6 separate regions of the Homo sapiens genome follow, and regions 2, 3, 4, 5 and 6 are each linked to region 1. Evidence: promoter capture Hi-C in 16 types of primary human blood cells and fetal thymus (Javierre and others, 2016). All regions are on one chromosome and are shown on one strand. The core of a region is centred on a gene start or on the middle of the fragment in contact, and the rest is flanking DNA. Distances in the headings are between cores, read along the strand shown. Region 1 holds the start of CHD7 (chromodomain helicase DNA binding protein 7). Region 2 has its middle 240 kb from the start of CHD7. Region 3 has its middle 210 kb from the start of CHD7. Region 4 overlaps LOC124901949 (a long non-coding RNA gene). Region 5 overlaps CHD7 (chromodomain helicase DNA binding protein 7). Region 6 overlaps RAB2A (RAB2A, member RAS oncogene family).

Region 1 (5,076 bases), core at 1,496-3,995:
TTGGTGTTTTTCTCAACTGCTTTCTGCTTGGCCCGCTCCATTCTTCAATGCCCTCCTTCCCAGGTCCTTAGTACCTTTCCACTGTCCTCTGGCTACACGGAACTCAGGTCTGTCCTATTCCTCCAGGGCTCAGACTCCAAAATTAACATTCTCCCTTATCACCAGATCAAAACTACCAATCCACTAGATTGTAAACTCCATGAGGGCAGGACGTTTTGTCTGTTTTGTTCACTACTATATCTCCAGTACCTAGAACCAATCCTGGAAACTCTTAGGCACTCGAAGTTGAATGAATGGCTAAGTCTCTAAATTTGTTACTCTGGCTAGCTGTTGGGAGGAAAGCAACCCATTGAACCAATTTACACTCATCTGTGAAAGACCAGTAGCCCCTTATCTCACCCTAAGGTATTTGCATACTTAAAGAGAAAGCTTGTGAATTCAAATTACTCTCATTGGGAAAACTTCAATAGTGAAGCAAATGGAGAAAAAACATTTCAGGCTAAAGGGGAGTGTTGGGGGATGGTGGTGGTGTGGTGAGAGCTATGACTCAGGTAGGCCAGATCTGCCTAGGAGTTTGCCCCTGAGGGCCTCTACTTTTTAAGGCCCCTTACGTTCCACACCACCACAACATCTAAAAGCTTAGAGACTTCTTCATGATGGCTCAGGGCAGTGATCAGGATAAGGAGACTATAAGTCAGAGGACTTATATTCTGTAGGACTGTTTTTACATTGGGTACTGGTATATATCAAAAGGAAGTTTCCTAGCTTTCGAGTTAAATGTACAAGAGCACAGGGAATCTCCTCATAGTCATATTTGTTGATAACAAGTTAATTGCAATATTGTAATTTCACTATATGTAGATGTCATTTTTTTTCTCCTGTGAATTGCCTTGAAATAGATGCACATCTGATATCGAGCTGTGGCACACTGTAAAAGATAAGACATAATTTTTTATGGCACATTATTTTAAAAATGTGTTCTAATATAGTCAGGTACTAGCGATTTTTTTTCTAGACATTGTGTCCTGTTTTTGACCCCCCCGCCCCACACACCCCTAAAGCACCTTTCATATACTTTCATTGGGAAATATAAACTTAATGGAAACAGTAGCCTAACCTCAGAGTTGTGATTCTTGGTTTGTGATACCGGGTTTAAAACAGATGGAAGTTGATTTTAGTGGTTTCAACTTTTTAAATGCCAGAATTCTTTCTGTACTGTCTTCTATGTTCTTTTTGATGATCTGTAAGCTCCTTAAACATTAAAACATTTATTTCTTTTAGAACAAAACTCAAATACATGATGAAAGCAAGCTAAAAGCAGTGCATTTAACAAACCACAATATAATGTGATATATTTATAGAATTATTACTAAAATCAGAAAATCAATGTCTTAGTGATTAAGTCTAGGATAATCAAACTTATTGAATAGTTGCAGTAGTTACTTAATGAGATAGTTTTGATTAATCTTTTGTCCAAATAACAATATTGTGATTACAGGCTTAGCACTACAGGTAGTGTAACCATCAGTGAGTGAGATTAGTACATTTTACATAGTTTTGCTATTTTCTCAGTTTATTTTGGAGTCCAGTAATAACCAGTCAGTCTGTACCTGCCATAGGGCAATCTTTGGTTGATATGAGTTCCTTTCCTGATTTTAAAATAAGTGCAATCTTTAACCTAATAAAATTATCTTAAAGTTTACAATTGATGGTTTAAACACATTATAATTGCTCCGTATTTTGCAGATAGAAGAGGCTTAATCCATGTTTGTAGATCTATTTCCTAAAATAAAAATTAGTAAAAAAAAGTTTTTTTTCTTCAGGTTTAACATTCATTTTGTACCGGGAAGAGAAATGGAATAAGAGGCTCGGATTTTTAAGACTATGCAATCAGATACAAGTGCCATTTTGGCCAAAGAATGAGTAAAACATTCTAGTCCCGACACGTTTAATAATGGGCATACATCCTATTTCTTTGTTTCATAATCATTGAGCTCTCTGCCTTCTCTCTCTTTTTTGGTATGGTAACAAATTCGACAAAATCAATGCCATCTAGTTAAACTTTTTGATTAAGTAGTGGATCCGGTGTCCTATCCACGAAGAGGTGGGAAAAGCGATGTGGAGAAGCAGGCACGAACCCATCTGGAATGGAACATGTCCCTTCCGAATAATTTCATGTGGGAAAATAATTTCAAGTTGAAGGATAATTACTGCAGAGACTGCCAGTCACCCCCGGCCGCCGCCGGCCGCGCAGCGTCGGAAACCCTTCGCGGCAGCCAGGAGGGTCGCAGCCCTCCCGGAGCCCCGCTTCCTGCCCCGGGGCGGCGCACCCGGCTCCGGGAAGGTGCCGCGCGGGAGACGTGGCAGCAGCCCCTCCAGTCCGCGCCCGGGCGCAGCGGCCGAGCGCTCCGTGCAGCCGGGCAAGGAAGACTCCGCGGCAGCAGCGCACCGGCCGGCGGGGAGACCCGCCTGAAGCGCCGGCGCCCGCCAGGGGACGGGAAGTGGCGCCCGGCCCGCCCTTGCGGCCCGCGGCCCGCGGCCCAGCAGCTCCGCGCCGCCCCTTTTCTCTCGGCCTCTCCCTCGGCCTCCGCCACCCCGGCCGAATTCTTGCATAAATTATGCCAGGCGCGCCTGACGTCAGGTGGCGGCGCGCGGGCGCGGGCGCGGGCGCGGCGCGGCCCGGAGGGAGCTGGCGGCGGGCGCGCGCGGCCCCGCGGCTTCGGGTGCGCGCGGCGTGCCGGACGCGCGCAGGCGCTGGCGTGCTGGGGCCGCGGCGGCGGCGGCGGCGGCGGCGGCAGCGGCGGCGGCGGCGGCGGCGCGGGGGTTGAGTCGTGGTGGTGCGGACGCGCTCGTGCTCGGGAACTATCGGATTAAACTTGAATCGAGTGAAATTACACAAAGGAGCGCCGCGGAGGAGGCGGCCCGGGGACCCGGACACCCTGAAACTCACCAGAGACCCGTTCGCCCCCGGCCAACTCCGTGCCCGTGGATTCAGCCCCCTGGCCGCAGCTGCCGAGCCAACTCCGGAGCCCGCTCTGCGTTTTGTTTTCCCCTCGGCACTAGGCAGCGGAGGAGCCCGACCGACCCGGTGAGCGCGAGAGTTCGCCCGGCGCCCCCGGGAGGGGCGGCGGCGGCGGCGGCGGCAGGAAATCGCTCCGGGCCGGGGCCGGGGCCGCGCTAGGAGTTGGGAGCGAGGAGTTGGGCGTGTGCGGGGCGAGGGGCGAGGGGCGAGGGCGGGAGGGGGCCGGGGCCAGCGCAGGAGCGCAGCGCCGCCCGCGTAGTGTCGCCGGCGTCGCCGCCCGCGGGGCCCGAACCCGCGCCCCGAGCGCCGCCCGGCGCCCCAACTTTTGCCTGCGTCCGCCGGGCCGGCGGCGGCGGGGGCGCGCGGTGCGGCCGAGGGTCACTTCCTCGCATGTAAATGGCTTTTTGTTGTGCTGCCGGCGTGGGGGGGGGGTACGGGGGACAGGAGGGAGCGTGTCTGCGCGCGGGGGAGCGCGAGCGCGTTTCCTCCCGCCGGCGCCGAGCACGAGTTGCCGGCTCCATTCGAGAGAAAAAGGAAGGAGGAAAAGTTGGGCTCCAACTCAAGTGCGAGCGGGCGATGGGCGCGCGGGCGCGGGGCGGCTGAGCAGCGGCGGCGGCGGCTCGGGGACGGCGGCGACCCCCGCCTCCCGCCCCCGCCCCCCGCTCCGGACCGACCACGCCGCGCTCGCCGGGAGCTGCGGCCGCACCGGCGCGAACAAAGTGCGTTCCTCCCGGCGCGGCGGCGCCAGCCCGCGCGGGGACCGCCACCGAGCGAGGTGGGTCGGCGGCGGGGAAAGTGCGCGGGGCGCCGCGTGGGGCGGGGGCAGCGCGAACACGCGGCGCGGGAGGCGTCCCGAGCTCAGCCAGTGCCGGTCGCGGGCGCGGAGTTGCGAGCCCGGAGTTGGGGGCTCCTGGGGCTCCCCGGCGGCTCCCAAGTGCGCTAGGAGGAGAAGAAAGGGAGCGGGGCCGGGGCGAGCGCCGGGAGGCGCGGCGAGGAGGGGACCCCACCTTGTCGAGCTGGCCGGGCCGCCGGCGGCGGCAGCTGCATAATAGCGACTTTAACCTTCCAACGCAACTCGGCTCCCCCGCCCCCCAACCCGCCGGGGGTCAGCGCCGGTGGGGGGTGGTCACCAGGTGGCCCCCGAGGTGACCCGGGTGCGCTCTGCCCTCGCAGAGAGCCGCGGCTTGGAGCGTGAACGGCCGAGGTGGCTGGAGGCCAAGCGGTCAGCGGGGAGAGGAAAGGAGGGCGGTGGGGGACGCGTTGTTTGTTTGGTTCGCACCGGGGATTGGGCTCGCTGGGGGCGCGGGGCTCGGGCGGGGGCGCGGGCACCGGCTGGGCTGCGGTGCGGGGCGGGCGCGGCGGCGCGGGGCTGTCGAGGTCGCGGGGGGGGGGGGCGGGGGCGGCGGCGGCGGCGGCTCCCGGGCGGGGGTGGGGGCGCTGGTCGGGAGGCTCTGGGGAAGGAGCCGCCGGCCCCGAGCAGCCATCATTACCGAGCCGCCTTTCTCCGGATGGCTCTGCCTCGAGGAGCCCGGAGCCGTGGGAGCGCACCCCAAACTCCCGGCCGGCCGCCCGCTTTGTGAGCGCCCCCGTGAAGCGAGCGGCGCGGAGAGTGCTCCTGCTATGGGTCGGACTCTTTTCCTGGAGGTCACTTTTAGAGACTGCTCACGCCTTGGTTTAAACTAGTTTTTTTCCCCCTCTTCTGAACAGACAATGGACAAAAGAAAAGTAGCAACCCACATGGAGAGAGTTTCCTTTTGAATTGCTAGAATTAGATACACTATCCAGCGCTCCACTTGCTAAGTATACTTTTTAGTTTCCCATTGTATATTATCTAGCAATCGATTTAAATAACTTATCTTAAAAAGTGTCCCTTTTGGGGGCTTAATTTCTGGAATACATTACATGTCTTAATTTATTTTTAAAGGATTTTGTGAGGCCCTGATTTTTTATTTTCTAAAAATTTTAATTTAAGCCGTCTTTGCAGTGGGCGATACCTTTCTAAGGGGTTAAGTGTTATTTCACCCCAGTTCTCTCTCGGTAAGGGAGGGAGTACT
Region 2 (5,076 bases), core at 1,128-3,627, 240 kb after region 1:
AGGCCTCGCTGAGTTGCTGTTTGATATTGTTCTTGCTTCTTACCACATTGGTGGCATTGAATGTCCTTATTGATTTTTGCCTGATTGGTCTAACTTAGAACAGGATCAGCTTCATAAATGGGACATCTTGTGGGCTGAAATATGAGATTTGTTTTAACAAACCACTCCTAACCATCATCTCTTTAAGGGAAGCCAGGAAAGGCAATTGCTGAATTTCTTCTTGGCCTTCTCTCTGGTTATCCCTCTCACTCCTCCTACTTTTCCTTTTCTCTTTCAGGCTGCTTTCTCCTACTAGTTACAAAACAAACAAAAAACAAACAAACAAAAAAAACAAAACAAAACAAAAACTAAACTAAACCAAAAACAATAAATGCCAAACAATACTCAAAGAACTACCAAATTATTCCCTGGGCCCCTGAATCAGATGGAGCTGAATCATTCTGGCTGCTAACTGAGTGAAGGGTGTTGGGGAAAAGTGCCATTGTGTAAGTTAAGGAAAGGGTCAGAGAACCGAAAAGACGGCAGCTGTATGAAAGGGCTTCTGTGCTGGGATTCTCCTTTTAAGCTATCCAAAGGCACAAATCAAGAACCGCAACCTTGGAGATATGACAAATGAACACAATTCTGGTTTTTTGTTTTATTTTAAAGTGAAATTCCACTGTTTCCCAAGAATTTGCACATGAAGCTTTACATATTTTTCATGTCAGCCCCCTTCCTTGCCACCTTTGTTTTCCAGCCTGCCTCCCCTTAACAGCTGGACACATCACCGTTCCATTTTTCTATTAGTTGTGACTGAAGTAGCTTGAGGTCAATTATTTCCCCAGCAATTGACAAAGAATCTTGATGAAGAGGAAAGTGACATTGTCCCTTGAACAACACTGCTCCCTCCTCCCCCTGCCCTCCCGGCTGAGAGGAGAGAGCAGGGCAGACTTTCCTTTTGCAAGGAGCCCAGCAGGGCGGTGGCGGTGGGGTCTGTGGAAGTGCGTGGGTAACATATGGTAAGTGGAGAAAATATTTATATTCATGGTGAAAGAGCAGGAGAAGATCCAAAGAAGGTCATTCCACAGAGATTTCAAGCAAGAGACACTGACTTGATATTGTATCTTTGACCTGGATACAACAGAGAATTTAAAGAAAGAGTTTTCTTTTGTGGCTTTCCTGCCACCGTTACTTCCAACAATCCGAATTATTGGCAATTTAAAAAAGAAAAGATTCCGCCCACTAAACTTGATAAAAGTATCACACTGGCCCTTCCCCGGGCCCTGGCCAGGCTGCCACGCCTTCTCCCCTCCCCCTGCGCCAGGTCCCCAAATCCAGAATTCGGAGCCGCGGTCACTGAGCCTGTGCCTTGGGCCTGCGGGCGGTGTTTGTTGTTGTGACTGGGCGGCTAGGTGAGACGGAGCGCACGGGCAGAGTGCGCATTTGGGGCGACTGGTTCTTGGGGGAAGATATAAATAATGAATCGGTGTTAGATTATTTTCTGATGAGACACATGAAACCTCCAGTGCTTTCAGCAGGCATTTTGCATCACAGCTTCCTAAGAAAGGTAAAAGGCCCTCTTTCGGTCCCCCAGTGGCAAAATTCGCAGCTGTCGCCCAGCACCACAATCAAATGCGTGCGGGGCTGCGGGACAGAGGCGTCCTCGCGTACCCTCGGACAGACCCACAGCTGTCTGGCGGATACACACGTGCGCGTCTGGTCGACCGGACCAGCAGCTGCTTGCGTCCCCTCTCCCGCGCACGGTGGCGGCCCCGCACCAAGACCCGCTGAGGAAACGAAGAGTAGGGTCATTTCCCATCTTGCCGTCGAAAGTTTATCCCATTTCCCGGGTGTGCAGGAAGAGATGGCGCGAGGGCAGGAAGGTGTGAAACTGGGGTTCTGCGGGAGACCCACCGTGGCTCTATATTCACTCTCGTTTGAAAACTGCCAGCGTTCCACTCCCCCTAAATTCCAGTTCCCGAGGGGGAGGTAGTGAGATGGGATACAGGTGCGTCTGGGTCCTCGCTTGGGAGGGGTTCTCCCACTTTGGGACCCCTCGTGGAGCAGCCCATAACCGACCGGCCTGCTGTACAGAGGCCATGCTTAATGGATTCTCGCAGATAAAAGGGCCTGGCTACCTTTCTTTCCTATAATGGCCCCTGAGGCTAATGTCTTAAAGAGGAAACAAAGGGATTGTTTTACAGCACACAAGGGGGGTGGCGGGAGGAACAGGGAGAGGAGGAGGAAGGGGCATTGGATACGCGGAGCGGGAGGAGGCCTCCCGCTTCTTAACCCTTCACCTCCTGCGACCGCCCAGGTCTCCCGAGCTCCGCACCCTCATCCAGGACCCGAAACAGCGGGGAGGAGGCGACAGTGCGTGGAGGGCCCCGCCCTGTGACTCGACCTCCAGCTCTCCTCACCTCCTTCCCCGTCTTTTTAAAGAACTTCTGAAAGGGAGAACGGAAAAGATGAGGGGACCCATATCTCGTGAGCTGCAGTTCTGAAAAGTCAGTTCTAGAGGGGTCGTCTCTCGCGAGGCCCGGGTGCCCACACAGGATCGACGCGTGGCAGTGCCACCTGGGCCCGGACTCTGGGACTGCGGGAGGCGGGAGCGCCTGGGGCCAGGACCTGGGCGTACGCTGAGGGCACCCGGTGAAGGCCGGGGAAAGTGGGGCAGCTCCGAAATGCGGCCTGCACGTCGCCCTGGGAGTCGTTCCCGGGCCCCTCTGCAGACACAGCCTTCAGGTGTGAGCGGTGTGTGCGCCGGCCGGGGGCGTCTCTTACAGGAAGTTTATATTTGCAAACTGGGCGGTGGGGGGGGGGGGGGGCGGGGCGCGGCGGGAGAGAGAGAGTCTCAGTGGCTTCTGCTTTCTGGCTTTTCTGTTCTGGCTCCAGGAAAAGATCAAAACAATAGTTAAATAGCAATTGAAGACAAGTGATGTAAGAAATAAACAACTCGACAACAAAAATGCCCATAGGGACGGTTTTTTAAAACCCTTTATTATGGAAATCAGAGCACATGCACAAAAGGAGAGAGAAAGGTATTGTGCAGTGGGTCTCAAATTTGATCAAGCATCCGAACCGCGGAGCGAAATCCTCTGGAGGGCTTGTTAAAACACAGATTGCTGGGCCCTAGCCCTAGAGTTTTTTGTTGTGTATTTTTAAGCAGATCTGGGGTCAGCTCCCTCCTGAGAATTTGCAACTTGTTAGAGCCCTCAGGTGGTGCTGCTTCTGGTTTGGAAAGGACACTGCTATCCACTGGTCCAATAAATCTCCGCGTACCCTCTCCCACCTTCAATATGTACAACACCTCCCCACTCTGTTCATTCTATCCCCTCCCACATTTTGTTTGGTTTGCTGGAGAATTATAAAGCAATTCCCAGCCATCCTATCATTTCACCTATATAGATGATTTTTGATTCGGTGGTTACTTAAGCCGAGAGGACTGCAGGCTTCCTTGTGGTCATTTCACATTGGGGCAGAATCTGGTACCTCTCTCTGGGAAATCCATGCCCATATCTTGGTTCTGAGACCACCCTTCGGGAGTTCCTTTCCAGCAGATTGTCACATGCCCAAACATCACCACTGGGTCTGCTGGCAAGCTGGCCTGGCCTGGTCAGGGCACCACCTGGTCCCCATCTTTCATTTTCTGCTCATTGTCCCCAATCTGTCATCATGTACTCCCACAACCATCGTTTCCCCTGAGGTATTTTCCTAACAAGGCGTCTCCCCTCCAGGGTGGAGTTCTGAGTGCCTAGGGATGGGGTGGTACCCACAACAGTGCAAGCCCATAGGATTATTTGCATCAGTTAGGTCCAGGACTCACACCCCAAGGGGAGCTTCTCTGGGCTACTTGACCCTCCGCATAATTCCTGATTGGAAAAGGGGACATTCTAGGCATAGCTTCTGGGAATGGCCATCACTGACATCTGTCGTAACCTCCCTTGATTGTCGGGCCCTAGCTCAGTCTGGCTATCTGTGTTGCTTCTGTTCCAGAGAGGTGCCAAGTGCTCTCTTAGACTCCACCTGGCTAGTCCTAAGTGTGCAGCCTCTACCTATCTCCTTGCCTCTCCTTTGGGCCGCTCCGAAACAAGCTTCCCTTCTTTCCCTCCCCTCCCCTCCCCATCCTGGTTTAGGATACCATCTGCTCCTTCCACAGCTTTCTCATCCCAGCCCCTCCCAGTCCTATCCCCACCTCAACCCTCAGAGGTCTCTTGGGCTGTTACAAAGTTTAGACATTTTTTTTTATTTTTTAAACTTTTAGAGATGGGGTGTCACTTACTGTGTCACCTAGGCTGGAGTGCAGTGGTGCGAATTCGGCTCACTGCAGCCTCAACCTCCCAGACGCAAGCGATCCTCCCACCTCAGCCCCTAAGTCACTGGGACTACAGGCACGCACCACATAGGCCTGTTAATTGTTGTATTTTTTTTTTTTTTTGTAGAGACAGGGTTTTGCCCTGTTGCCCAGGCTGGTCTTGAACTCCTGAGCTCAGGCAATCCGCCTGCCTTGGCCTCTCAAAGTGCTGGGATTACAGGCATGAGCCACTGTGCCCGACCTAGACTCTTTTATTGTTCTCTTTCTTTTCCTGACTCTTCATGAAGCAAGCATACTATATGAATTCTTCATTTTTCCATCTGCTGTTAAAGAAAGCCCCGGGGATGGAGTAGGTTCCTCCACCCCAGAGCTCTGTTCCTATTTTCATATTGCCTCATCTTCCTATGTTTTTCTTCCTTCACCAGCCTGGAATTAGCTGTCACTTTTGTATTTTCTCATGAGTCCTACCACTTGCCTTTGCTTTTCTAGCCTTTCTCAAAGAAATGCAAACAGCTTGTGTTTTTTCCCCTTGGGTCCTATTGTACCTACTTTTGTTTGATGGTCTCTCTGTCTCCCATGATGCCAGTGAATGTAGCAGTTTCTCTCCACTTCCACCAGTGCCTGGGGAAAATTTGGTATTGGCAAATTTGAGTTCTGCCTTTTTGCAGCTTGCATTGCTGGATTCAACCTTAGGAGCCTCAGTTCCCTTATTTATTCACGCGACACATCTGTATGAGCCTTTACTACATGCTAGGCGCTATTCCAGCTGCTGGGGATACAGC
Region 3 (5,076 bases), core at 875-3,374, 210 kb after region 1:
TTCTGAAACCATGCCAGTTATATTGCTTTAGAAAATATTTTTCCCATAATCCTGTGAAAGCTTCATTACCTAAATTAAGAGCCTCTCATTCAAGACATCGCTACTTTTCTTGTTAAGTATAATAACATTTGAAAGGTACTTAATGATCACTCTCTTTTTGTCATTTCAGCATACCTGTGAGAAAGACAAGAACAGGAGAGTTGTAATTTACAAGGATATAGTCACTGTGAATTATTAAATATATATACTCCCTGCTGGGCCTTTCTCTTTAGAATGCTTTGTTTAGTCAACACTTTAAAATATACTTAGTTAGAAGAATAAATTTAGTTAGGGGAATAAAATTCAGAAAACCTTAATCAGAATTAAAGATAAAATGTGTAAAGTAATGACATCATATCCCAAGTAATTATCCCTCATTCAACATTCTGAGGATTACTAGATCTTTTCCTTTCTCAAGTTATTTGTTTACTCAGTAAATTACTCAGATCTAGCCTATTCTATAAAGGTTGGGTCATTTTTTCCAAGTCAGTTACACATCCTGTTTTTTAAAGGAAGCAAATAATAACTTGGAACTTTTTTTTTTTTTTTTTTTTTTGAGATGGAGTCTTGCTTGCTCTGTCACCCAGGCTGGAGTGCAGTGGCGCGATGTTGGCTTACTGCAAGCTCTGCCTCCCGGGTTCACACCATTCTCCTGCCTCAGCCTCCCCAGCAGCTGGGACTATAGGCGCACGCTGCCACGCCTGGCTAATTTTTTTGTATTTTTAGTAGAGACGGGGTTTCACCGTGTTAGCCAGGATGGTCTTGATCTCCTGACCTCGTGATCCGCCCACCTCGGCCTCCCAAAGTGCTGGGATTACAGGCTTGAGCCACCATGCCCGGCCGGGAACATTTTTTTAAGCTTTACCCATCTAGGAAGTGTGTAGTATCATGGTTTATACTTATATAGTTACCCTAAAGTTGTTCTAAGTATTTGTTATGTCTTAACTCATTAAGGTCTTAACTCAGAAAGGTCTGATCCTTTTGACTGAAATATCTGGGGGAAAATGTCATTGGGTCTGGTCAGCCATCCCATTACTGGGTATATACCCAAAGGACTATAAGTCATGCTGCTATAAAGACACATGCACACGTATGTTTATTGCAGCACTATTCACAATAGCAAAGACTTGGAACCAACCCAAATGTCCAACAATGATAGACTGGATTAAGAAAATGTGGCACATATACACCATGGAATACTATGCAGCCATAAAAAATGATGAGTTCATGTCCTTTGTAGGGACATGGATGAAATTGGAAATCATCATTCTCAGTAAACTATCGCAAGGACAAAAAACCAAACACCGCATGTTCTCACTCATAGGTGGGAATTGAACAATGAGATCACATGGACACAGGAAGGGGAACCTCACACTCTGGGGACTGATGTGGGGTGGGGGGAGGGGGGAGGGATAGCATTAGGAGATATACCTAATGCTAAATGACGAGTTAATGGGTGCAGCACACCAGCATGGCACATGTATACATATGTAACTAACCTGCACATTGTGCACATGTACCCTAAAACTTAAAGTATAAGAAAAAAAAATACATGATCTATTAAAAAAAAAAAAGAAAACGTCATTGGGTCTGGTGCTTCGGAAAATTGGGATCTGAATAATTTTTTATTTTATCTGTCACCTATCAACTTCCCCATCACAGGACATACTGCAGAGATGTGATGGTCCAGCAGAAGCGCAGCCTTCCCCTTATGCATTCACATGCTGGAGCTGGAAAAAAGCTGGAGGAATCCAACCCATTCAAGTTATGAGGAAGAACCAACTCTTTTCAGTCCACCCAGCTGGTGAGAAGCAGGTACTAACACTTGGGTATGCTTTCTCTCACCCCAGTTCTTCCACCAGCACACAAAATGCCCTTCCCCCCACTGTCACAAGGTTGAAATGTAGTTAATCATCAAGAACAAGGATGGTGTGGAAGGAAATGAAAGGGGCAGATACAGCCTAGATAATAAGTAACACTATATTGGGTACTTTTCTCTTAAGACTCATATCAATTCAAAAAAAACATAGATTATAATAGCTAACACTATTAATCCTTGCTATATGCATTTTACATGGATTATCTCATTTAATCCCTGCAAAAGCCTATGATATGGATGTTATTGTCATTCCTATTTTATAGATGAGAAAACGGGCTTCAAAATGTCAAATAACTTCCCTATGATGCCACTAGCCAGTGGCAGAGAAAGGATTCAAATCAAGAACTCTCTGATACATAAATCCGTGTCCTTAACCATTAGCCTATCCATGGGCAATTTTCTTACCTCCATTTTACAGCTATGGACTCGGCATAGCCCAGTGTGGCAGAGTTCTTAGATACAAGTTATGGCAACCAACTCTGGTTCACTTACACAGAAAGAGAGTTGGTTCATTTATGCAGGAAGAGGAAACCTAGCAAGCTCACCAACTCCAGGTTGCAAGAACCTTGCGGTTCTCTGAGGCACCCCATCTATGCTCCTATTGTCCACTGCAGAGCAGAACTCCATTTCCTCTTTCTTAGCAGACGGATTACTTCAGTCAAAACCCATACCATCCCCCACACACCACACACTTTCTTTTTTCTTTTTCTTTCTTTCTTTCCTTTTTTTTTTTTTTTTGAGACAGAGTCTCACTCTGTCACCCAGCCTGGAGGGCAGCGGCGTTATCTCGGCTCACTGCAGCATCTGCCTCCTGGGATCAAGCTATTCTCCTGCTTCAGCCTCCCGAGTACCTGGGTCTACAGGTACACACCACCATGCCTGTCTAATTTTTGTATTTTTAGTAGAGATGAGTTTTCACCATGTTGGCTAGGCTGGTCTCCAACTCCTGGCCTCAGGTGATCCACCTGCCTCGGCCTACACTTCCTTTTTTCAATCCAGTGGCAAGAGGACTTTGAAATGCCCAGGTGTGAGTCTCAGCTTCAAATTTACAATGGAACCATTGCTGCCTCGCCTGCTGGAAGCATTCTTCCCTTATTTATTAAGACCTCTAACAAAGCCCAGAGCTCTGGGGTCAGAAAACAAAATAGCTGCAAGTGGTTGTGAGGCTTTACTATTCCTCCAACCATCCCTATTCACAGGAAGGATCCACTGCATGTGGATCGCTGATTCCCACTCTCTGTATGTCCCAAACCATTACATCGAGTGGCGTGAACTCACCATTTTTTCAGGTCAAAAATGATGATTCACTGGCAATATCATTTAGTTTAAGAGCAAGGATTTCCCCCTACATTTGCTGTTTCTAGAACTGAGTCTTCATTTGGTTATGCTGCTGTTCTACAAGGGCAGCTGCTTCTGAGATGTGGGCTACAAGGCAAGCTTGGAGACTCCCATAGACTTCAGCCCATTGCCTGTCTTCCTTCACTCAAAAATAAATACTTTAGGCCAGGCGCGGTGGCTCACGCCTGTAATCCCAGCACTTTGGGAGGCAGAGGCGGGCTAATCACCTGAGGTCAGGAGTTCAAGACCAGCCTGACTAACATGGTGAAACCCCATCTCTACTAAAAATACAAACAATTAGACAGGCATGGTGGCACGCACCTGTAGTCCCAGTTACTTGGGAGGCTGAGGCAGGAGAATCACTTGAACCCAGGAGGCAGAGGTTGCAGTGAGCCAAGATCGCGCCACTGCACTCCAGCCTGGGTGACAGAGTGAGACTCCATCTCCAAAAAAAAAAAAAAAAAAAAAAAAAAAATGCTTTAGTGAGAAGGAATTCTATGTGGGTATGAGATACCATCATGATTGATAAGGCATTCATGAAGGCCATGTGTGTCATGAAGGAAGAAGCTTGTTAGGAAGGAATGCCAATGCAATCCAGGTTCATAATAAGTGTTCATTCCAGTGAAAACAAATTGCTACCTCTACAGTTATGGAAAAGATTCAGTGTAATCAACAGGCTACCAGAAGGCAAGCTGCTGCTCCTGAATATGGTGCCACATTGACACTCAGGGTTCATCACTGAAGTAGGCAAGTGGGATACGCAGCCAGGTGAGGAGGATATGCAGCCAGGTGAGGGCCCGTGCTTGTCTCTGAGCCCATGCATAGCTTCCTCCCTCCACGGCCTCTCACTTCATGTACCTATTCGGTGGCACTGGGTTTCTGAGGATAGTGGCTGACTGATATCCCGAGAGGACGGTCATGTCCACCTTATTAAAGAGCGCCTCCTTCACTGGGAAGAATTTTGGTGAGCGTTATCATGGCATTCTTGGTGCCTGTTCTCAGAGGTCAGTCTATATTCTTTCCCTGATCTGGTCACCAACTCTTAATCTTGCTCTTTACTAATTTTTTACTAGGTGGCCAAACAATTAATCACTGTCCACACAGCCTGACTTAAGCTCCTATCTCCTTCTTGGTAAAATAAAGAATGAGAAGAACCAATTATTTATGCTGGGATGATTGCCTTTCTTTACTATTTTTCAAGAGTCAGTGTCACTCTTCAGCAGTCTCTCCCAGCAAACACCTACACATTGTGCAAAGTCATATACACACAGATTTTTTTTTTTCCATTTTCAGTCATCTGATCAGGAGGATTCCCCACGAGGCTCAGGTGTAGGTTGAGGGAAGGGTCATAACATAGAAGGCAATGTACCTGGGTGTGCGAGCCATCTGCCCATACAATTTTCTTATGCCTTCAGGATCTGCACAGCCTGAGTGATGGTGCTTTGGGGAATGCCTGAATTTCTGGCTGGGAGGATGAGATAAAACCTACTTCATAAGGCAGAGCTCAGGTTCACCTGGTATTCTATGATTAAATATGCAACATCCATCAGGGTCCAGTAGCAATCTTTTCTCAATAGAAAAATAATTCTTGCCAAGAGGTTGGGGCTTTACTTCTGAAACCCTGGCAGAGGCTTCATATAGTTGCCTCACTTGCTACTTGCACTTTGAACACCCTTGGATCCAATCTTAAGGCTCAAATGGAAGAGCTCTTTCTGCCACAGACTTGTCCAGTTGGAGACTGGTGGGGCCCTTCTTAAAGCTAGTAACCTTTCAATTACCTGGTACTTGGGGGAGAAAGCACAGCGAAATGTGGCATATGT
Region 4 (5,076 bases), core at 1,784-4,283, 170 kb before region 1:
GCCCTCCAGTAGTACTTCTTAGCAGCAGGTGCAACTGGCACTTGGGGCTGACCAGTTATTTGCTCTGCAGGGCTCTCAGGTGCATCTTAGGATGTTTAGCATCCCTGACCTCCACTTGCCATCACTCTAACAACTCAAAATGCCCAGCATACACTTGCATGGAAGTGCTCAGCCTGAGAATGGCCAGTTCACACAGAATACCGTGCCTCCTGCCAATGATGGGTTCAGGAACTTACCCAGCAATTGGTGAGCTGCCCCTTGAAGGGGATTTCCCTGCCACATGGAATGATCCATGTGCTTCCCACAACCTCGGCACTGCACAGTAATCCTATCACTTTGATATTCTTTTTCCCATTTTACAGATTAAGAAACTGAAATACAGATGGAATCAATGGCATGGCCAGGTCATATGGTCAGTAACTAATGAAGCTGGAGGCTTAATATACTGCCAAATAAAATTATGGGAGTGACCTGAAGATCCAGATTGGATCCCAGGGCCAGAACTGGATGGTAATTTGATTGAATTTGTTAAAGTATCTAAAATGACTGTTATCACAAGTGGGGTTAGTCAGCCTTAAACCCTCAAAAAAGGAAGGTCTCAGAGATAAAAAGCAGTATTCTCTATTAAAACATGATTCATGGTTTAGATCTCAAGAACTTCAACCACAAAAAAAAACTTGTTTTAAACATGATTCATGGGAGTTTTTCATTCATCAAAATATTTGATACTTGGGCAAAGCCATTAGGCCAGGATTATAAATGCTGCAGAGGCCAAAGAGATAAATGGCGCTGTTCAGAGGGAGATAACAGGGTGTGGTTAGGGCTGATGAAGTAAGTGAGCGAATGAGCTGATTAAAGGTATTGGGATTAATGTTTTTCTCATCCCAAAAGTGAGATGGGTGACTCATGTTCTCTTAGCTTAAGGTCATTAAATATTCCATAGACATTATTCTTTGTCCAGGATAACAAAAAGCTAGTTGCACAAATTTAAAATATCCCTGTCTCTGGGACAATGATTTCTCATTGCAATTTGACCTTCTGCTTTTAAAAATCAGACTCATAAACTAGGTTAATGTAAGTCCATTCCTGAAAGATGAATTCACTCTTGATATACAGAGAAATCAGGTTTCTAAGCCTGATTTACTATACATACCAGCCTGTGAGCCCCCTTGGGAGACACAATATAGCCTTGCTTTGTGAACATAAAGCATACATCATTTCCTTGTGGACGACAAATATGTTTTTCTTATTTGTTATATGCTGATGATTTTTAAATTTGTCTGTGGAGGTCACAACTCTCATTAGTCAAAAATTTAAAAAGCTGTACCAGGCTTGCTGTAAAAATTAGATGATTTAAGGTAGTTTGTTAAACATTTTTTATTGCATTAAACTTTTAGGAAATTTTAAGAATAACTGTGAGAGATTCAATAGATACATAGGTAAAGGACACAAGCATGTTATCTACAATAGAGGAACTACAAATGTCTAGCACATAGTTGAAAAAAACATTTGGCCCCCACAATTATGCCAGCTATGTAGTATTTCTATCTCAAGCTCAGGCCACTCCCCCAAGCTCCAGATTCAAATGTCCAATCGCTCATGTGAGATCACTTAGAAGTCTACTGGCATCTCAATTCAACATGTCCAAAACAGAATCTTTGATTCACTCTCCTTTTTCCCACATACCTGGTCTCCTACCTCAATTAATTGCATTACTTTGTTCATCAGGCAAAATAAACAGGAATCATGCTTACTTTTTTCTCCTTCCCAGTTCTTCCATACAAAGTCTGTCATTGAGCTGGACCTGGTGAGGTCCTGGACTCTTGGGTGCTGCCTGGACCCACCCAAATGCCAGAATGGGAGTGACTTGATTAAGTTCCTCAGGGAGCTAGGTTAAGCAGATAACCTTTCTCTTGTTTCACACACACACAAAAATCTTGCCCTCCTAGAAATTCACCTCTCAAAACAATACCAGCCAAGTAGAAGAGGAAAAGAAGAGCAAGTGTCTAGAGGCCCTGATTTGCCTGGACACCCATCTGGGTGATTTGGGGTGGCCAACTTGAAAGAGCTTTTTTTTCCCCCAAGCCATTCTCTCCTGTTCTCAGCCAGCTTCCTGCAACCATGAGGTCAGAAACAAAAACAAGTATGTTTGTGCTTTTACATTTGTGATGGGCAAGGTACTCTAAAACGCAGGGTTCAGGGCAGGGGCCCCTTTCTTCTGAGTTCAAGAAAGCCACTGAGTCTTTTTTTTTTAGACAAGGTCTTGCTCTGTCACCCAGGCTAAAGTGAAGTGGCAGGAACATGGCTCACTGCAGCCAGTCTCATTCTCCTGGGCTCAAGCAATCCTCTCACCACAGCTCCCCAAGTTGCTGGGACTACAAGCACATGCCATAGTGGCCTGCTAACTTTTTTATTATTATTATTGTAGAGACAAGGTCTCACTTTGTTGCCCATGCTGATTTCAAATTCCTGGGCTCAAGCAATCCTCCCATCTCAGCTTCCCTAAGTGCTGGGATTACAGGCAAGATACACCACTGTACCTAGCTTTTATTCATTTTATTATTCATCTTTATTGCTTTCATTGCACATGCTGTTAACTTCTTATGAACTCTTTGTTCTAATAAATAAGCATATCCAGGTTTTTCATAAATAAATGAGGAGTCTATAAATTCTTACTAGTTTTAATAGAAACATTGCCACTAAAATGGTGTATTCTAGCTGTGTGAGCTTTTGGAAAATGTTTTCATTTCCTTTATGTTTGAATGTTCCTTCCAGGTCTTTGAAAATATACATTCTGAGTTGAAAAGCTTTATAATAGGTAAAACTCATTAACCCATATACTTTCCATGCTGGGCACAGCAGGTGTGGTAGGTAGAAATATAAGATGACTCCCAAGATTTTTGCACCCTGGCATACACATATGCTTTTCCAGTTGTTGAAACACTAATTTAGGTGCTGCTGTGAAGGGATTTTGTAGATGTGAATAATGTTCCAAATCAGTTGGCCTTAAGATAGAAAGATGATCCTGGATGGGCCAGATCTTATCAGTTGAGTCCTTAAAGGGAACAGCACCCTTCCTGACAAAGAGATTCAAAGCATGAAGGATTAAAAATGAGAGAGATTCTCTATTGCCAGCTCTGGAAATAGAGTAGGTCACGTGGTAAGTCGTTCAAGTGGCCTCTAGTTGCTGAGAGCAGCTCCCAGGTAAGAGCCAACAAGGAAATAATGACTACAAGGAGATGAATCTGGCCACACTATGTAAGCTTGGAAAGGAACTCTGAATGCCAGATGAGGATGCAACCAAGCCAACACCTTGAGTTTAGCCTTATGAGATCCTGAGTCGAGAATCCAGTGAGACGATGCCCAGATTTACCACAACCCTAGAGGCTAAAGACAATACCCCCTAATTATCTCACAATGCTGTATTGTCTTTAGTCTCTAAGGTTATTTAGTAATTTAGTAATAAAAAGCAAATCCAGTAGGACCATGCTAAATTAAGATACAACCTCTATATCATATGATGCAGTGTGAATCAGCACAGTAGAGATTGCAGTGTCTCTGGAAGCCATTTCTATACTGGACAATTCTTTGCAATAATTCAACTACACGTGCAAGTGATCAAATTAATATATCTTACAAAACTAAGTGTATCTTCAACAATACTCTTCCTTAACCAGTACCAAAAAAAAAGATCTGTGAATATTCTCTAACACCTCTCAACACAAGGGCAAGTGTCACAGATGGAAGTGAAGACTAAAGAGAGACAATAGAATTCACTGATTAAGGTTTAAATATCTTACTTTAGCAACTTTTTATTTGCAAAAATAGAAAACTGATCATGTGAACACATTTGCATTAAAAGATGTTTCTGCAAATTAGGGGCCCTGAAATTAAGCTTCATTAGGTTCATGGTAAGTCTACCTCTCTCTTTATCTATAGCACTTGGCAAAGGGCCTGGCATCTGAATGACAGGTCTCAAATGTTCTTTTTCATATGATTACATTAAATAAATCATTAAATTGTTATTTACTTAAATAACTTTAAAATTTTCTTGAGTGAATTAACACTACTTGAAGGATCCCTGTAAACTGAGTCCACTTTCAATTTCCTATCTACTGGGTCACTTATAACAAACCATGTTACACGTATACTTCCTCATCTCTGCTTGTTTCCAAGAAAGGAAAGGTAAGTAATTTAGTTTTTGTATTTCAATTAGTAATTCAATAACCTGTCTGTTTTTTGTTTTTTTAAAGCAAAATAGCTTATCTCAGAGTTCAGATCAGACAATCTCACCACTGGTGTTTGGATTCAGTGTCTTTTGAGGTAAAGTGAAAGAAGAACCTTTCAGAAATGCATGCAGTTAATTCAAGGAGAGGAAGAAGGATCTAGTTCTAAAGAGGTTTTTGTCTATAATTGATTTTTCTAAAGGAAAAATCAACAAAAAGTATAGTGTGTCAATGCTGAATACTCTGCTCTTTCAAACGGACACTTTCGTATTATAATTTGTATCAGATACAGTATCAAGAAAATTAAAATACCCATATACTAAGAGCAAAAAATGTTCTTCAGTAAGTCTGGTAATGAAAACTTCAAGATAAGATTTCAAAATTACATAAGGCTGCAGTTCTTCTAATAAAGATTACTAAACTGTAGTATCAGAAAAGGTACTTTTGGGGAATCAAATGATAGTGAAGCTTCCCTCCTGGTTTGTACCTTAAACTTGCTTGGCTAATGGCAGTACTTTCACCACCCCCATTTAGTGTAACTTTTGTTAAACTTAACTTAAAATGCAAAATGATGCATAATATACAATGTTATTCATAATGATAATAGCTGCTGTAGTATTTGGATATAAGAGTTTTCACAGGCAGGAAAACATTCAGTTTCTAAAAAATGATTCAAAGTTCATGAAAAAGTATAAATAAACGGTTTACTCTGTTGTTCACGTAAATCCCTAAGGACGTGGAATGGAAACAAACAGCAAGTATTCTTAAAAAAAAAAAAATCCTTTTTAGGATCTACTTTGTCATTGTATTCTAGCCTTAAAACAATTGCTTTGCATATAACTTTTTTTAA
Region 5 (5,076 bases), core at 1,060-3,559, 150 kb after region 1:
AAAATACAAAAATTAGCCGGGCGTGGTGGAACACGCCTGTAGCCCCAGCTACTCTGGACGCTGAGGCAGGAGAATCACTTGAACCCGGGAGGCAGAGGTTGCAGTGAGCCAAGATTGCACCACTGCACTCCAGCCTGGGTGACACAGTGAGACTTCATCTCAAAAAAAAGGAAAAGAAAAGAAAAGTGCTTGGCTATTTTATATGCTGTAAGAGTTATGTGGGCATTAGTTATAATTTGTGTGCTGTATTTGAAATAAATAACGGAGATAGACTTGAAATCTTGGTTTTTACGTGCCCCCTCCACTGACTTACTGTCTAAAACCTGTTAGCTCAGTTCAGAGTAAGGTCTGTTTTGTTTTTCTTTTCTAAAATAAAAACTGTATGGATTACTCAGTTCTATTGCCAATCAATAGAAAAGAGAACCAGGGAGAGACGTCTCTGCTGGCTCCTTAGTGCAGGGACTAGATTGCTCCTGGCTCACTTCCTCTCATTCTTTAGCTCTCCCTAGAAAGGAAGAGAATAGAAACAGAGCATTGCCATGACATTGTCTTGTCCCTCTTCTCTATCTTCCCTATGGCTTAGGACAAACAGAAGGGAAAGCTACATGAATCAGTTGGATTTCTCCTGCTGGGTACTTTTCAAGCCTTCTGGCTGTTCAGGGCTCCTGGATGGGTGAAATAGTTCATTTGACATAAAATTATGCAACCTTCATGCACTGCTCTTATGAAAGCTGAGAGATGAGCTCCTTCATACTCTCACTGGGCTTTGAAAAATGAAAATGGATGTTTAATGAATGAGATAATCCTGATGTTTCATGTTAAAATATGTTTTAACTTGCAAGCAAATCATGACACTAGTATTTACTTAAGGTCCTTTTTTAGGTGCAAAAACTTCAAGCTATTCTAAAGCCAATGATGTTGAGACGTCTCAAAGAGGATGTAGAAAAGAACTTGGCCCCCAAAGAAGAAACTATTATTGAAGTTGAGCTAACAAACATTCAGAAGAAATATTACCGAGCCATCCTTGAGAAGAATTTCACATTTCTTTCCAAAGGCGGTGGTCAAGCTAACGTACCTAACCTATTAAACACTATGATGGAATTGCGGAAGTGCTGCAATCATCCGTACCTTATCAATGGTAAGGCTGCCCTGCTCGCGAACTTGCTTAAGTGACGATTGAAGCACCAGAAATCCCTTTCTGCCCCCAGACTGGGGATTTCATGGTGTATAGTCATTCCTGTCTCCTGTCCACTCAGCATGGGTTTCACCAGCTTCCCACTTTCTGTGATGCCTCCTTCTGTGGTTGCTGAAGGTGAGTGACCATTGCCCCAGCAATCCCTGAAGTGGAATCTCACCTTGCCTTTCTCCTGACCTCCCTGTGCTTGAAAAGAGGCGTTAGTGTTCCAGGGCTAGAAGTCATCTGAAGTGCTAACAGCCAAAGAGAAATGAGCCCCTAATGGAGGTTTTCTTGGGGTGTGTGTATTTAAATCAGAGATGTTAAAGAGGAACTTAGGTGTGAGCAGACAGCTATCAGCTGTCTCAAGCCTTTGATAGCAAATGTCCTCATCTTCCTCTCAGTCCAGAGTCATCTAGCACCTCTATCCTCTGAGAACAAAAAAATTAACTTAAAGCTTTGATAATTTATGGCCCTCCTCTTTTCTTAACTAAATTCATAGTGTTATGTAACTCATGGCTTAAAACCTTTATTATGTATTTTTGGAAATCATTAAGGTAGTAAATATTTCATGCTTATGTTGTATAAGATACTCTGGAGAATGCAAAGGTAAATAAGAAGGGAGCATTCGCCACAAGCAGTCTTCAGTTAGCTGAGGGATTGAGATTGGGGGAGTCTTTAGAAGGAGATGGTCTTTTTAGGCAAGTCTGCAGGGGTAGAAAGGATTTTGCGAGGCAGAGTTAGAAAAAGAAAAGATGTTTAGGCTGAAGTAACGATACAAGCAAAGAGAGGGGGTCAGGAAAACAATGAGGAACTTTCCCAAAGTAAAAGGCACACATAAGAAATGCACCTTAGACATGCTTGGATCCTGCTGCAGAATTCCTTAAAGGCTAGTGCATGGAACCTCCACTCTACTCTGCAGGCAGTGAAGAACCATGACTAGTGTTTGAGCTGAGCATTGATTAGAAATATGATTCAGGGTGATGCGTCAGGCAACACTGCATAAAAAGGATGGGAGGAGGAAAGACAGACAAGCAGAAGAACCAGCTCAGAGGCTATTGTATTCTGGGTAGAAGTTAATGTGGGTTAAAGAAAGGTGGTGGCAGGCTAATTTGGGAGACTTGTACACGATGATAGTTGGCCAGCAGTGCAATTAGATTCCTTTCCAAGGAAAAGGGAGCACAACCTGGTCTGTCTTTATCACAGTTTATGTTCAAGGACAGCTAATTTAAAGAATTTCTAATCTTTCCCCTTTTAATAACGTGTAACTCATCGGCCACCCTAGATTCAGAAGTCTCCGTTACTAATGGACAGAGTAGTCCACTCCTGGAAGATAGTCTTAGAGTGTTGCACCTGGGATCATTGGTGTGATGCGACGAATCAGTGAATTTCTTTTTTATATATATATACACAGTTTTTTTTTCTTGAGATAGGTTCTCACTCTGGCGCCCAGGCTGTAGTGCGGTGGCACGATCTCGGCTCACTGCAGCCTCGACCTCCCAGGCTCAAGCATCCCTCCCACCTCAGCCTCCTGAGTAGCTGGGACTACAGGCATGCGCCACAACGCCCAGCTAATTTTTTTTGTATTTTTTGTAGAGACGGGGTTTCTCCATGTTGCCCAGGCTGGTATCGAACTCCTGAGCTCAAGTGATCTGCCTACCTCAGCCTCCCAAAGTGCTGGGATTACAGGTGTGAGCCACTGCACCTGGCCAGTGAATTTCTTTTTGTGCTTTTAGTTTTGTCTTCTAAAGAGAGTATCATGTGTGATGATTATGTATCTGATACTGCCAATCTGCTAATCACAGTATGTTTAGAAGCTTGTGCAGCCGTTACGGTGAGTGTTAACTAGCCAGGTCTTGAGTTGGCGAGACAGAGCTTAGGGCAACTGATGGAGCGAGATGAGGACACGTGTGTGCATGCACTGTGCACATACATGTGTTTGCATTTAATAGCTGGTACAAAAGAAAATAAATAATAGCCTCCAAGGGGAAAGAAAAGAAAAGGAGATACAAAAGGGTTTGAATGCTACCAGCAGGATGTGTGTGAAAGGGGAGATCTCAGCAATGGTAGTTAGATTGACACCCCCAGTTCCATCAAGTTTACCCTGTTTGGTCATATGTTAATTATATGCATTGAACATTGTGGGTTGTTTTCCCCCAAAACACAGCTGGTGTGTCTCTTCCTTTGATGATTGCTTTCCAGGGTCATCCTGTATAGCATATTTGTTCGCGAGGAGCCTCTTAGGACTCCCTAAGGCTTGGCAGATGTGGCAGTTGTCCTAATTGGTCACACCTTGAGGTCAGCTTTTCTGTCCTGACAAGAAGTGTCTGTTAAGCAGGTGTCTTTGTCCCTAAATTTGGGGAAGTTATAGTGAAAAAGTGTAGATAACATACAAACTAAGCGCACGCAGCTGCCCAGATAACTTACGCAGACATTGTATTGTGTAGAGGTTGCTCCAGGGCCCGTACTGTTCATTCTCATCCACAGTCTGGAGTAAAAACATATATCCAGCATTTAAAAGGAAATTCTTTAATTTGGGAGATTACATTGAAATTTGAATTGGTTGTGGCAGAGTAAAGAAGCCTCAATCAACATTCAACAAAACACATTTCCAGGATTATGAAAAATAGAAGCAATTTTATATGTATGAGTTGAAAGCTTATGTATGAGTTATTAGCTCAAGCTTTATTTCAATGGAATTTCCAATTTTTAGGTTTTGCAATGTGAAGTTAAGAATAATGTTGAAAACATGTCCAAGGTACCCTGCTGGTTAGAGCTGACTTAAGAGTTGTTGCTGGTTATTGTTTGAGGCAGGAGGCGTGTAGAGGAAGAGTGGGCAAAAAGAAAACACGAATGAGGCTTACGTGATGGAGTGAATTTCAGAGAGAAAATAGTAACTTTTTTTTTCTGGTAATCGTCAAGAACAAAATATTTTCTTGTTTGTTCGTGGCTTTTATATAGCTAGAGGACATTGCAGTTACTGTCCCGACAGTGACCATCTGTTGAAGTGAAAAGACTTCAAGCTGTAAGTGAATGCACACTTGTTTCAAGTTGTCTTTGATATACACACTTTCCAGTGTAGTGCCAGCCATACATTAATTTAGGACGGAACCAACAAAGTGTTTTGGGTTGGCATGACCTATTTCCAGTTAATTTTTGGATTGATGTTTACAAATTGGGTATCAAACATTAATTTGTAATCTTGAAAATTTAGCTGTGATATCACAAGGGAGCAGTTGCTTTCCTCCCCAACACTCTTCCCACCCTCTTTCCTTCAATGTTGCCACAATAAAATGTCAAGACAATCATATAGGAAAGGTGTTTGCTGATACTGTTTTTAAATGAAATATTATTAGTACAAACTGGCTGCCAGTTGTAAGAACCTGAATTCATAACAGAGAGCTGAATTAATTAATTCAGAAGTAGCTTTTGTCAGGTAAGAAAGAATGCATTTTTTTTCTGACTATTCTTTTTGATAGTATAAAAAAGGCAAAAATTATTTTTTTAATCTCTGAATAAATTTAAAATTAAAATTCTCTGCAAATTTGACTGAATTATTTGTTAAAAAAATTTAACTGAAACCCAAATATCTGATGTTTATTTTGTCGAAATGATTATTTGCTTTTTGAAAAATATTCGTTGGCCATTAATTTGTTTTAAATGGCTAAAATACTATATTTTATATTGTGGATTTTAACTTAGTATGGACAAAAAATAATTAACCAAATGTCATAAGAGTAAAACTTATTCTGAATTTCAGAGCTTATGATGTATTGTACAACAAGAATACACTTGAAAGATACCTAATGTAACGTGCACTTAAATCTGTTTCCCCTGTCTCTTGAGGGGCTTGTCCTGAATCTAGAAGCTGGGTTTCTAAATTTCATGTTTTAAAAAATATT
Region 6 (5,076 bases), core at 1,839-4,338, 140 kb before region 1:
ACTGTAACGTAGAATTAGAGTAATGGGAGAATTGGCTAAGAGGTAGAAAGAACTCTGAAGACTGTGGTAACAGCAGATAGGGTAGTAGTCACTACCTCTAAGGCTATGCAGAGCATGGAAGGAAGGACAGATCTGACATTCAAACCTCATTGGAGGGGCATGGCTGAGGCCTACTGGATGTCAGAGACATTAACTAAGGGGCTGAAATGGGCTGGACAGCTGCCCTCTTTGTGCTCAGCTTCTATGGTGTGTGTGTGGCCTGAGAACTCCATGAAAAGCAACCTGAAGGAGTGCTGGGGGCAGATGGCCATAGAGGGGTGCTGAGTGCTGATGAAGCTGTCATGCCCTGTGCCCTACCAAGGTAGAAAGGTTTCAGTCTCACTTGAAGGACAGTGAAGGGTGGATTTGGAGCAAGAAGGCAGTCAATTGAAAACTGGCACATGAGAGTACTCACTACCTTTTGAAAGGAAAATAACACTTAAGTTTGGGGCAGATAATGATACAGATACAATTCTAATTTAATGCAGTCATATTTTCATTCTCTAGCGTCATTTCCCCATCTGAAAAATCCACTGTTGAATAAAATTTTGTTTTAGAAATTGATAGTTTTTTTTTCTTGAGATGTAGGCTAGAGTTGTTTGATAGAATAGTCTATTACTTTGTGATCTTTCCAGTGAGCATGAGATGCATTAATTCATTCCCTGAGCATCTGCTTTTAAGCCAGTCCACTGTGCAAGGTCGTTTTCAAAATACAGAAAGGCAAATGTTACTGCTCCTGAGGAGTAAAGCTAGATATATAAACTGATAATAAAAGTACCATGTGATAAGTGCTTAATCAAGTATGTACGTATAGAGTAATTTGGCCTTAGCAGATAAAGTGAGCTTGTCTTCAGGTACTGGGAAAGGAAAAAGAAGTGATTTTTCCTAGATGCATTATCTCTTTTATTACATATTATCTCTTTTATTTCTCACAATAGCCAATGAATAAGGTGGTATAATTACCATTACACAAATAAGCAAACAAGGCCTAGAAACCTGAAGCAACTTTTTCAATCAGCATCATACACAGGATTCAAATCTAGCCCAGTAAATATTTGTTATCTCTTAAACTGGTCGTGTACTTTGAAATGAAGAAGGCATAAGTTCACCAAATATAAAACGTAGGACTAAATGCAATTGTGAAGGATTTAAAAAGTAGATTTGATGCATCCTTGCCCTTATGAGGTTTATAGTCTAGCTGTGCTTGTAGAATATAATAAGGGCTCTGACTGAGGAACTGGAAGAAAGTATGGCATTTTGTAAGAGGGGGAATGCGTTTTTCCTCCTTCTTGGAAAATCATAGGGTACAATAACATTTGAACTGGTTCTGACAAGTAGAAATGGTAAAAAATCAAAATATAAAAATAGGAGTAAACAGGAAGGTAGTTGTCTGCTAAGTTCCACACCTTGTACTGTCCTTGATATGAACGGTCCAGTTTAACTTTAGTATGGACCCTGTGTCAGGCTGTTATGAGAAATAAGGCTGGAAAGATAAATCCATTAAACATGGTGGACCTAGGGAGGTACATGTGACAGGTTAAGGTAGAGTTTGAACTCTATTTTGTAGACAGTGGAATGCATTGAAGTTTTTGAAAGAAAGAGTATACAACTAGAATTATAATTAACTTTAAAACCAAATACAGTATATATTCATATTTTAATATAGTAGCGTAGACATACTAGATGTTAAATGTAATCCTTTTCTTCTGTCTCATCCATTCTCTTTTTGTCTTTTTCTCATCCATTCCTGGTGCAGTCATACGTAGAATAGATTAGAAGGGTACGGGTATATAGTTAGATGGTAATTAAAATGTTCCAGAGAAGAGGTTCCTAGAGGCCTTGTCTAAGGCAGTGGTAATGAAAATAAAAGGAGGTTACAGATGAGAGCTGGAATTATCAGGGTTTAGTGAAGGATATCATAGGGAGTGAAAAGTGTTAAAAATGAAGATCATTTTCAGACACTTTTCCATTTCTGAAAAGTGTATACTTCAAATACTGCCTGCCTGCCTCCCTCCCTCCCTTTCTTCTTTTTGAGACAGTCTCTCTCCGTCGCTCAGGCTGAAGTGCAATGGCGCAATCTTGGCTCACTGCAACTTCTGCCTCACAGGTTTAAGCGATTCCCGTGCCTCAGCCTCTCAAGTAGCTGGGATTACAGGCATGTGCCACCACGCCTGGCTAATTTTGTTACATTTTTAGTAGAGTTGGGCTTTCCCCATGTTGGCCAGGCTGGCCTGGAACTTCTGACCTCAAGTGATCTGCCCACCTTGGCCTTCCAAAGTGCTGGGATTACAAGTGTGAGCCACCGTGCCCAGCCCATTTTTTTTATATAAGAGTAATGCCTACACATGGTAATGTTAAAACAATATGGAAGGGCAGAAGATTGGATATGGTGATGAGAGATGACATTATATAAGACACAATGGGTAAAAAGCTTTTCCTTATGTGAAAACTCTGGGGCAGAAGTCAACTCTTCTAGTGTGGGCTGTGCATAGTAATTTCCTTCCCAAGAATACAGTATGGAAAAGAGGGGGAAAGTTCCTTTCCATTGGAGAAGCCTGACAGACTACCTTAGCCAGGTTATGAAGGTTAAAGTCAACAGTGATCAGTCACATTGATAGTATGTACCCTTGATATGATGTGATGAAAATGGTATTCTTTCTCTGTCATCTTCCTTCCAAACACTTATAATCCCAGTCTAATCATGAAAAAATTAGACAAATTTCAACACAGGGCATGTTACAAAATACCTAATCAGTACTCAAAACTGTCAAGAACATCAAAAAAGGAAAGCATGAGAAACTGTTACAACCAAGAGGAACCTTAAAGAAGGCCTGACAATTAAATGTAATATGGTTTCTTAGATGTGATCCTGAGACAACAAAAGGACATGAGGTAAAAACTAAGGGAAAAAATTAGAACTTTAAGGGAGTTAAAGGTAAAGAGATTTTATAAAGAGTGCAGGATAAAGAATAATCCCAGCACTTTGGGAGGCAGTCAGATCACCTGAAGTCAGGAGTTCCAGATCAGCCTGGCCAACATGATGAAACCCCATCTCTACTAAAAATACAAAAATTAGCCAGGCGTGGTGGCAGGCACCTGTAATCCCAGCTACTCAGCAGGCTGAGGCAGGAGAAGTGCTTGAACCCAGGAGGCAGAGGTTGCAGTGAGCTAAGATCACACTATTGCACTCCAGACTGGGCGACGAGCACAACTCCATTAACCATTGTGTAACCAGTTAAGGTGCTTAGTAAGTAGTTGCTGAATATATCATATTATTACAGTTCTTCATAAGTCTATTTTTAAGGTCTAGGCCTTCAGTGAGGCCTACTTCATCTAGTGGTTGAAACACAGGTCTAGATTTGGTTTCCTGGAGTCCACGTCACACCCAAGCTGAGCGAGATAATCACAGAAACTTGTCAGTGTTCTTTCTCTTCTAGCATTGACAACAGAGGCTATTGTGTTTTTCCCCTGAAACCAGACAGTTAAATAAATTATTTTATACATTCACAGGCAGAAAATGTTCATCTTTGAAAAAATCAAATGTGGCCTGGAGCAGCACCCTCCCCTACCTCACCAAAAATAAAAATCAGGAAAAAATTTTTAATAAAAATCAGGAGAATACAAAGGAAGATACTTCTACCTTTGTAAAGAGAGGTGTGTCTTATGGAAAGCTTCCTAGAGGATATGACACTTGAGTTAAGTCTTAAAGATGAGTAGCTGAGTAGACAAAAGAAGTCGCTGGTTATTAGAGAAAGAACACTGAATAGGCTGGGTGCAGTGGCTCATGCCTGTAATCCCAGCACTTTGGGAGACCAAGTCAGGCAGATCACGAGGTCAGGAGATCGAGACCATTGTGGCTAACACGGTGAAACCCCATCTCTACTAAAAATACAAAAAATTAGCCAGGCGTGGTGGCATGTGCCTGTAGTCCCAGCTACTTGGGAGCTGAGGCAGGAGAATCGCTTGAACCTGGGAGGCAGAGGTTGCAGTGAGTGTCGAGATCGCGCCACTGTACTCCTGCCTGACGACAGAGTGAGAATCCGTCAAAAAAAAAAGAAAGAACACTTAATAAATGTATGCAGAGGCCCAATGTGTAAGAGATACTGACATATAGGAACATAGGCTTTCAGCTGAGTTTATATCTCATTTACTCATTTTTGTGATTTTGGTCTCATCCCAGAAGTGTTTTAATATTGGGGGTACTTTAATATTGTAAAAGAAAGAAACAGAAATAGTAGTAGATGATTGCATCAAGGGAAAGAGGGTAGAGGGTTAGTTCTTCATATTGTCCATTTCTTTTTTTAATTGATTCTTTAGCAACTCTCAGCTTTGTTAGCGTACTTTTTTCTGCACTTTGCAGTTTCCAGGAGAAAGATCTTTTACATTCTGAAAGCCACATCCTCTTGGGAACTTTATTTTTATTACCAAACTTGATGCCTGGAATATAGTAGGCATGCATTCAATTAATATTCTTTGAATAACTATCTCTTCTCTTCCCTCCTAGCTTTCACTGGGCAGCCTTCTCAAATAAATGCTCTGTATTCCCAATTTTCTTTTCCCACACCACTCAATATTTCTTGTGTTTGAGTAACTTACTGATTGCACTAGGAATTATTATAGACAGAATCAACAAGACTGGGAAACTAACAACGTAAGAGTCTTAAGAGGAATGAAAGATGACTCTTGATTAGTGTATTAGGTTTTTAGGGCCACTGTGACAGCTTACGAGCTTGGTGGCTTAAAATCACAGAAAGTTGTTCTGTCACATTTCTGGAGGCCAGAAGCCTGATATTAGGTGTGTTCTCTCAGAAGGCTCCAGGGAGAATCCTGCCTTACCTCTTCCAGCTTGTGGTGGCTCCAAGCGTTCATTGGCTTCTGGCAGCAGAACTGTACTCTCTATCCCTGTCTTCATTCACTTAACTGTACTCTCTATCCCTGTCTTCATTCACTTAACTGTACTCTCTATCCCTGTCTTCATTCACTTTGCTTTCTCCCCTGTGTCTTTGTCTCCTTCTGCCTTTCTCCTAGGACACTTGT

The links. The method cuts DNA at HindIII sites, captures the fragments that hold promoters and counts their contacts. A CHiCAGO score of 5 or more calls a contact.
Region 2: a contact is called between a fragment that was not itself captured here and the fragment with the promoter of CHD7 in region 1, in 14 of 17 cell types (naive CD8 T cells, activated CD4 T cells, naive CD4 T cells and 11 more). The highest score is 29.6, in naive CD8 T cells.
Region 3: a fragment that was not itself captured here is called in contact with the fragment with the promoter of CHD7 in region 1 in 12 of 17 cell types (activated CD4 T cells, naive CD8 T cells, non-activated CD4 T cells and 9 more); the score reaches 18.6 in activated CD4 T cells.
Region 4: a fragment that was not itself captured here is called in contact with the fragment with the promoter of CHD7 in region 1 in 1 of 17 cell types (naive CD8 T cells); the score reaches 5.1 in naive CD8 T cells.
Region 5: a fragment that was not itself captured here is called in contact with the fragment with the promoter of CHD7 in region 1 in 10 of 17 cell types (naive CD8 T cells, activated CD4 T cells, naive CD4 T cells and 7 more); the score reaches 20.7 in naive CD8 T cells.
Region 6: a fragment that was not itself captured here is called in contact with the fragment with the promoter of CHD7 in region 1 in 1 of 17 cell types (naive CD8 T cells); the score reaches 5.3 in naive CD8 T cells.

The regions. Positions count from the first base shown.
Region 1 is chr8:60,675,995-60,681,070 of GRCh38, forward strand. CHD7 (chromodomain helicase DNA binding protein 7) reads left to right here and starts at 2,746. Exons shown (of 38, transcript NM_017780.4): 1 at 2,746-3,088. RefSeq lists silencers at 2,294-2,733, 3,094-3,193, 3,854-4,223. The HindIII fragment of the contact is 9,178 bases long and covers 637-5,076 here.
Region 2 is chr8:60,920,558-60,925,633 of GRCh38, forward strand. No RefSeq gene overlaps it. Among named protein-coding and RNA genes, the nearest start is that of CHD7, 240 kb to the left of the region's middle. RefSeq lists enhancers at 1,559-2,072, 2,073-2,586. The HindIII fragment of the contact is 3,388 bases long and covers 684-4,071 here.
Region 3 is chr8:60,883,297-60,888,372 of GRCh38, forward strand. No RefSeq gene overlaps it. Among named protein-coding and RNA genes, the nearest start is that of CHD7, 210 kb to the left of the region's middle. The HindIII fragment of the contact is 2,457 bases long and covers 897-3,353 here.
Region 4 is chr8:60,502,443-60,507,518 of GRCh38, forward strand. The region is part of intron 1 of LOC124901949 (a long non-coding RNA gene); the gene reads left to right. Among named protein-coding and RNA genes, the nearest start is that of RAB2A, 12 kb to the right of the region's middle. The HindIII fragment of the contact is 456 bases long and covers 2,806-3,261 here.
Region 5 is chr8:60,829,440-60,834,515 of GRCh38, forward strand. CHD7 (chromodomain helicase DNA binding protein 7) reads left to right here. Exons shown (of 38, transcript NM_017780.4): 15 at 883-1,138. Among named protein-coding and RNA genes, the nearest start is that of CHD7, 150 kb to the left of the region's middle. The HindIII fragment of the contact is 1,360 bases long and covers 1,630-2,989 here.
Region 6 is chr8:60,538,429-60,543,504 of GRCh38, forward strand. All of the region lies in intron 1 of RAB2A (RAB2A, member RAS oncogene family), which reads left to right. Among named protein-coding and RNA genes, the nearest start is that of RAB2A, 24 kb to the left of the region's middle. The HindIII fragment of the contact is 1,240 bases long and covers 2,469-3,708 here.